2 separate regions of the Homo sapiens genome follow, and region 1 is linked to region 2. Evidence: promoter capture Hi-C in human tissues and cell types (Jung and others, 2019). All regions are on one chromosome and are shown on one strand. Each heading gives the region's core, a stretch centred on a gene start or on the middle of the fragment in contact. The rest is flanking DNA. Distances are from core to core; before and after follow the strand shown.

Region 1 (2,856 bases), core at 88-2,587, 170 kb before region 2:
ATCCCAGGATCTGCCAAGATCTCTTACACACAGCCCCCTCCCTAGCCCCTCTGCCTGAGTACCTGTCCAACTTAGCTCTGAGGGTGCCCTTGGAGGAGGTGGGCTGCCCAACTGAGGCCCATGTTCTGCAGTTTCAGATGCGAGGAAAGGATACCACTGAAACCCTCATCCGTGAGAGTCAAAAAGTTCAATGGGGAGGAAGGCAATACCAACATCATTGTGACGAATCTAGTAGTCCCTTAGGGAAGTGTGAATAAACCCAGCACCCAGCTGCCCATCCTGGGAAATGTATGGATGGTGGCAAATATACCCACTGGGGTAGCTGGCCTACCAGGTAGCTCAGATGGTGATTGAGTTTGCTGAGAAACCATCTCCCATGATGCTTGGTGTCACAGTTCAAAGTTTTGGGTGTCCACATCACCAAGAACTGCAGGTATGAGTCTTGGGAGCATATTGAAGAATTAGGCAAAAAGTTGAAGAAGCTCTCAAGATCATTTAAATTGTCCATGGACAGTGACAATATAATCTATCAAATGTTCCACAGCTATTCTGAAGTGCTTTGTGAGGAAAATGATCCAGGAATTGATCCCGGCTCATTTCAGCTATTCAATATCACATAAGTAATGAGTCTCCTTTCCCAGGACTGTATTCAAGGATGGCACACAGTAAGTAGTTAGAAATGTTGGAGACCACTTAGGACAGATGAATGCTCTTTATTTCACCTCTTCCCTTAAACACATATGTGACCAGTGTTAGCCTTGCCCCTCTCCACTTAGTAGGTGTCAGCTCCCCTCCTTTTTTTTTTTTAAGACGGAGTCTCACTCTGTCACCCAGGCTGGAGTGCAGTAGTGCGATCTTGGCTTACTGCAACCTCCACCTCCCGGGTTCAAGCAATTCTCCTGCCTCAGCCTCCTGAGTAGCTGGGACTACAGACGCCCACCACCACGCCTGGGTGTATATATATATATATATATATATATATTTTTTTTTTTTTAGTAGAGACAGGGTTTCACCATATTGGCCAGGCTGGTCTCGAACTCCTGACCTTGTGATCCGCCCGCCTTGGCCTCCCAAAGTGCTGGGATTACAGGCGTGAGCCACCATGCTCAGCCGCTAATTTAATTTTTAAAATGAAGAGAAATGAGAGTATCACAAACATCTCATCTTTCCTAATTCTGAATTTCCCTGGCTCCTATCATGAGCTTAGAGTGGGAATGTGGCAGGGACATACAGGAAATGCCAAAGAACAGGACTGTAGGCATAGAGGTTGAGTGTGTGACAAGGGGCACAAGGTTTGAGCAGCCAGTATAAATGGGCAAATATTTGCAGAGATTACATCCTTCACTGATCATAGGGGAAAGCAAATATCTCCTTTCCTCATGGGACACAGAACTAGGCAGAACAGGATCAGGAAGCGATCAAACCTACCAAGGCAGTCTCACTTCTCAATGACTGGACTGTGTGGTAATTTGGGGTCCCTATATATGGGTGGAAATAAAACAGAAGTCCCTGGTGACCTGTAAATGGGGGAGACCAAGTGGGAGCAACTGGGGTGCATTTCCTATTTCCTAGGCCTTTACCTAAAAAGAACAGAAGCTTGGGGCCAGGCGCGGTGGCTCACATCTGGAAGCCTATCACTTTGGGAGGCGGAGGTGGAAGGATCACTTGAGCCCAAAGTTCAGAACTAGGCTGGGCCAGATGGCAAAACCACGTCTCTACAAAAAATTTAAAAATTAGCTGGGCATGGTGTCACGCACCTGTAGTCCCAGCTGCTTGGGAGGCTGAGGCAGGAGGATCCCTCGAGCCCAGGAATTCAAGGCAGCAGTGATTTGTGATCCCATCACTGCACTCTAGTCTGGGCAACAGAGCAAGACCCTGTCTCTAAAAAGAAAGTACAAAAGCTTGGAAGCAGGTGATGTATGAGGTGTCCCCCTAACTGAGTCTTGGGCTCACCATCGCCCTTAGGGAAATGGTTTGTATGTTTCGGATTTCTCCCCTTTCTAGGGTACTCTGCTCCAGACATGCGTGGCCTCAGACTCATCATGATACCAGTTGAGCTGCTACTTTGCTACCTCCTGCTGCACCCTGTGGATGCCACTTCATATGGAAAGCAGACAAATGTCTTGATGCACTTTCCCTTGTCCTTGGAATCCCAGACACCCTCCTCAGACCCCTTGTCCTGCCAATTTCTGCACCCAAAGTCACTGCCTGGTTTCAGCCACATGGCCCCTCTACCCAAGTTCTTGGTAAGCCTGGCTCTAAGGAATGCCCTGGAGGAAGCTGGTTGTCAGGCTGATGTTTGGGCTCTACAGCTACAGCTCTACCGCCAGGGTGGTGTGAATGCTACACAGGTCCTCATCCAGCATCTTCGAGGGCTCCAGAAAGGCAGAAGCACAGAGAGGAACGTGTCAGTGGAAGCCCTGGCCTCTGCTCTGCAGCTGTTAGCCAGGGAGCAGCAAAGCACAGGAAGGGTCGGGCGCTCCCTCCCGACAGAGGACTGTGAGAATGAGAAGGAGCAAGCTGTGCACAATGTAGTCCAGCTGCTGCCAGGAGTGGGAACCTTCTACAACCTGGGCACAGCTTTGTATTATGCTACTCAAAACTGCCTGGGCAAGGCCAGGGAACGAGGCCGAGATGGGGCCATAGATCTGGGATATGACCTTCTGATGACCATGGCTGGGATGTCAGGGGGGCCTATGGGTCTAGCGATCAGTGCTGCACTTAAACCTGCATTAAGGTCTGGGGTTCAGCAGTTGATCCAGTATTACCAAGATCAGAAAGACGCAAACATCTCTCAGCCGGAGACCACCAAGGAGGGTTTGAGGGCCATCTCAGATGTGAGTGACTTGGAAGAAA
Region 2 (2,906 bases), core at 75-2,574:
CACGAAAGAAACGTGTGAGAACTGGGGTTACCTTTATGTGCTGTGAAAGGGGTTAAAAAAGTCGACGCCTGTAATCCCAGCATTTTGGGAGGCCGAGGCGGGCAGATAACCTGAGGTCAGGAGTTTGAGACCAGCCTGGCCAATATGGTGAACCTGTCTCTACTAAAAATACAAAAATTAGCCAGGTATGGTGACGCATGCCTGTGGTCCCAGCTACTCGGGAAGCTAAGGCAGGAGAATTGCTTGAACCCGGGAAGCGGAGGTTGCGGTGAGCCGAGATCGCGCCACTGCACTCCAGCCTGAGCAACAGAGCGAGACTCCCTTTTAATAATAAGAAGAAGAAAGAAAAAAAAAAAAAACCCGTCACGAACAGGATTCGAACCTGTGCGGGGAAACCCCATTGGATTTCGAGTCCAACGCCTTAACCACTCGGCCACCGTGACTTCCAAAACCGCGCTTTATCGCGCGCTTACAGAAGGGGTCCGCACTGCAATCCGGGAATGCGTGCGGGAACCGGAAGCAGGGTACCGGCCCCGACACACACACACCTGAGGACTCCCCACCCCTCGGTTCCTTACCTCCTATCTACGCCACCCAAAGAAAAAGAGTCGGATGGACTGGGTGACCCAGGGAGGGAGGGTCTCCTGCCTAGCGAAGAGTCGGGGTCTCGAGTAGGAGCTCACACCTACTTAGGAGGCGACAGCGAGGCCTGCGGAGGAAGCAGTTGAGGGAAGGCACTGGGCCGCCAGGGTGGCGACTAGGGGACATTTGGGTTAACAAGTGAGGGGAGTGCTGGGTGGACAAGGCGCGAGGAGTGAGGGAGACTCTGAAAAGTTTAAATGGGGAGCTGCTGTGAATGGATGGAAGGAAGGAACTTCTTGGGGAAAGGGGTTTGGGGTTTTGGGGGACGAGGGGCTTCGTCGGGTTAGGAATGCGCAAGGTGAGGACCACTCGGGTCTACGGGTTGGGGCTGCTCCAGCGACTGGCGGCCGCCTGGAGTGGGATAGCGAGGTGACACTCCCGAGCTGAGGCAAAAAGAGGGAAAGGGCTTCGCGTCTGGTAAGAGCGATCTCAGGAGAATGGCGCCCCCTCCAGGAAGCGTCCTTCTCCCCGGAGGCTCCCGCCTCCGCTGCCGGGGAGGCCGCCAGGGTCGGCCCGCGCCTGGAGCTCCGCCGCCGCGCCCGGCCTGCCGGCAGGGGGCGCAGCGCGGACCGGGGCCGGCCCAGGCGGCGGGAGGCGGCGGCCGCGGCGGCGGGAGGCGGCGGGAGGCGGGCGGAGGAGGAGGCGGAGGAGGCGGGAGCTGAGCTGAGTGGGGCGGGCGGCGGCGGGGCCCGAGCCGGAGAAGATGGCGGTGCGGAAGAAGGACGGCGGCCCCAACGTGAAGTACTACGAGGCCGCGGACACCGTGACCCAGTTCGACAACGTGCGGCTGTGGCTCGGCAAGAACTACAAGAAGGTACGCGGGCCGGGCCGGGCCGCGCGGGGACCGGGGGCGGGACAAAGGGACCGCGGCCCTGCAGCCCCGGGATCCTGCCTACCCTCCAGGCGCCCCAGCCCCTCCCCCGCGGCCTCCCAAGCAGCCCCCCGCGCGCCCTCCTGCGCTCCCGCGCCCCTCCCCCAGCCTCCCTCTCCCCGCACCCCCAGCCTCTGAGCCCAGCCCCCGCCCCCACTGCTGCGCCCTCTGCCCCTTGTTTTTCTCTACTGCCCGGCGGGCCCCGGTGCCATTAGCCCACCTTCCCCTCAGCCATCGCCCTCCTGGCTTTTCTGGGAGAGGCGGCCGGCCGGGTGTGGACCGGGTGCCCAATGGGCTCCCCCGCAACCCGGAGCGTGCCCGCCAGAGCTCCCCACGGAGCCAGGTACCAGCGGGGCTGAGGCCTCTCCGGTGCTTTGTGTATGTTCAGAGAGAGAGAATGGAAAGCAGGAGGGTAAACAGTCACAGAGCAAGCCGTTGGCTGCTCATCAGCCTGAAAAAGGTCTCCACCCAGGGATCACCTGTCTCCGCCGCTCATCCCCCACCTTCATCTAAGGGGCAACAGAATCTCTCAGGGAGCCGGGGTATAGGAGTTCCTGGGTAGCGGCCCCTTCCGAAACCTTTCCTCGATTTTACAATGAAGTCACCTTGCAACCTAGCTTTGCAGTACCCTGGGTTTGGGGTCGAGAGGTTAGGGTGAGCTTCCTATCTCTAGCCCCTCACACCCAAACCCCATAACTGGAGATCATAAGGTGGTGAACAAAAGGTTCAAGAATCCTTACCTGTCTTTTCTACCAAACCTCTTCCTGGTGTCGTCTTTGTCTCTAGGCCTGGTTTTCTCTGGAAATGGTCTGCCTCTCTTTTTCTCACTACCCTCAGAGAGGGATTCTCTTTATGGCTTTCTTTCAGCTCCCCAGTTCTTCCTGCCGGCTTTGCAGCTCGTCAGAAGTGTGCTTAGTGGCTTAGGAGAACTTCCTACTGATGCTGGTTGTGAGCCTGGCCCTGCCCTTGGGGTCTCTCTGGGTGTGAGAATCCTGACAAATAGCTGCTATTTCTATGGCATGTCTCTACGCCTGTGAGAGGCTCTTATTCCCAGGCTTCTACCTTTGACCTTTTGCAGGGAGATCAGGCTAGGGGCTTAGCCTCCGGCCTTGGGGGAATTGACAGTTGTGACCTGGTTCAGCTTCCATGCTCTTAGCTCTTTGTCATTTACCTTTCCCTTCACAGATCTATCTCTTTTCACCTCTCACTGAGAGGCACTGTCTTCTTTGTGATGAGTGGGGAGAAAACGGGTCAAAAAGTAAAAAGAAAGTCTCCTGGCTCAGGTTCAAATTAGAATGGAAGGCTAGGATGCTACTAGGTAGCAGAGTGTGGAAACATAGAAGTAGGGCCAGGGTTACTTGTCTCAGATACAGTTTCCTCGGACAGGGTAGAT

What was found. Contacts are between HindIII fragments. The study calls those that stand out against the background at their distance.
Region 1: the fragment with the promoter of APOF here is called in contact with the fragment with the promoter of SMARCC2 in region 2 in 1 of the 25 tissues and cell types used here (liver).

Annotation. Positions count from the first base shown.
Region 1 is chr12:56,361,338-56,364,193 of GRCh38, reverse strand. It overlaps APOF (apolipoprotein F), which reads left to right and starts at 1,337. Exons shown (of 2, transcript NM_001638.4): 1 at 1,337-1,464; 2 at 2,005-2,856. The coding sequence starts at 1,449. The HindIII fragment of the contact is 13,203 bases long and covers 1-1,749 here.
Region 2 is chr12:56,187,901-56,190,806 of GRCh38, reverse strand. SMARCC2 (SWI/SNF related BAF chromatin remodeling complex subunit C2) reads left to right here and starts at 1,324. Exons shown (of 29, transcript NM_001330288.2): 1 at 1,324-1,456. The coding sequence starts at 1,346. It overlaps TRS-CGA4-1 (tRNA-Ser (anticodon CGA) 4-1), which reads right to left and starts at 443; the gene lies at 362-443. LOC107984468 (a long non-coding RNA gene) reads right to left here and starts at 115. Exons shown (of 2, transcript XR_007063330.1): 1 at 1-115. RefSeq lists an enhancer at 678-777 and silencers at 1,018-1,297, 1,368-1,587. The HindIII fragment of the contact is 6,976 bases long and covers 1-2,906 here.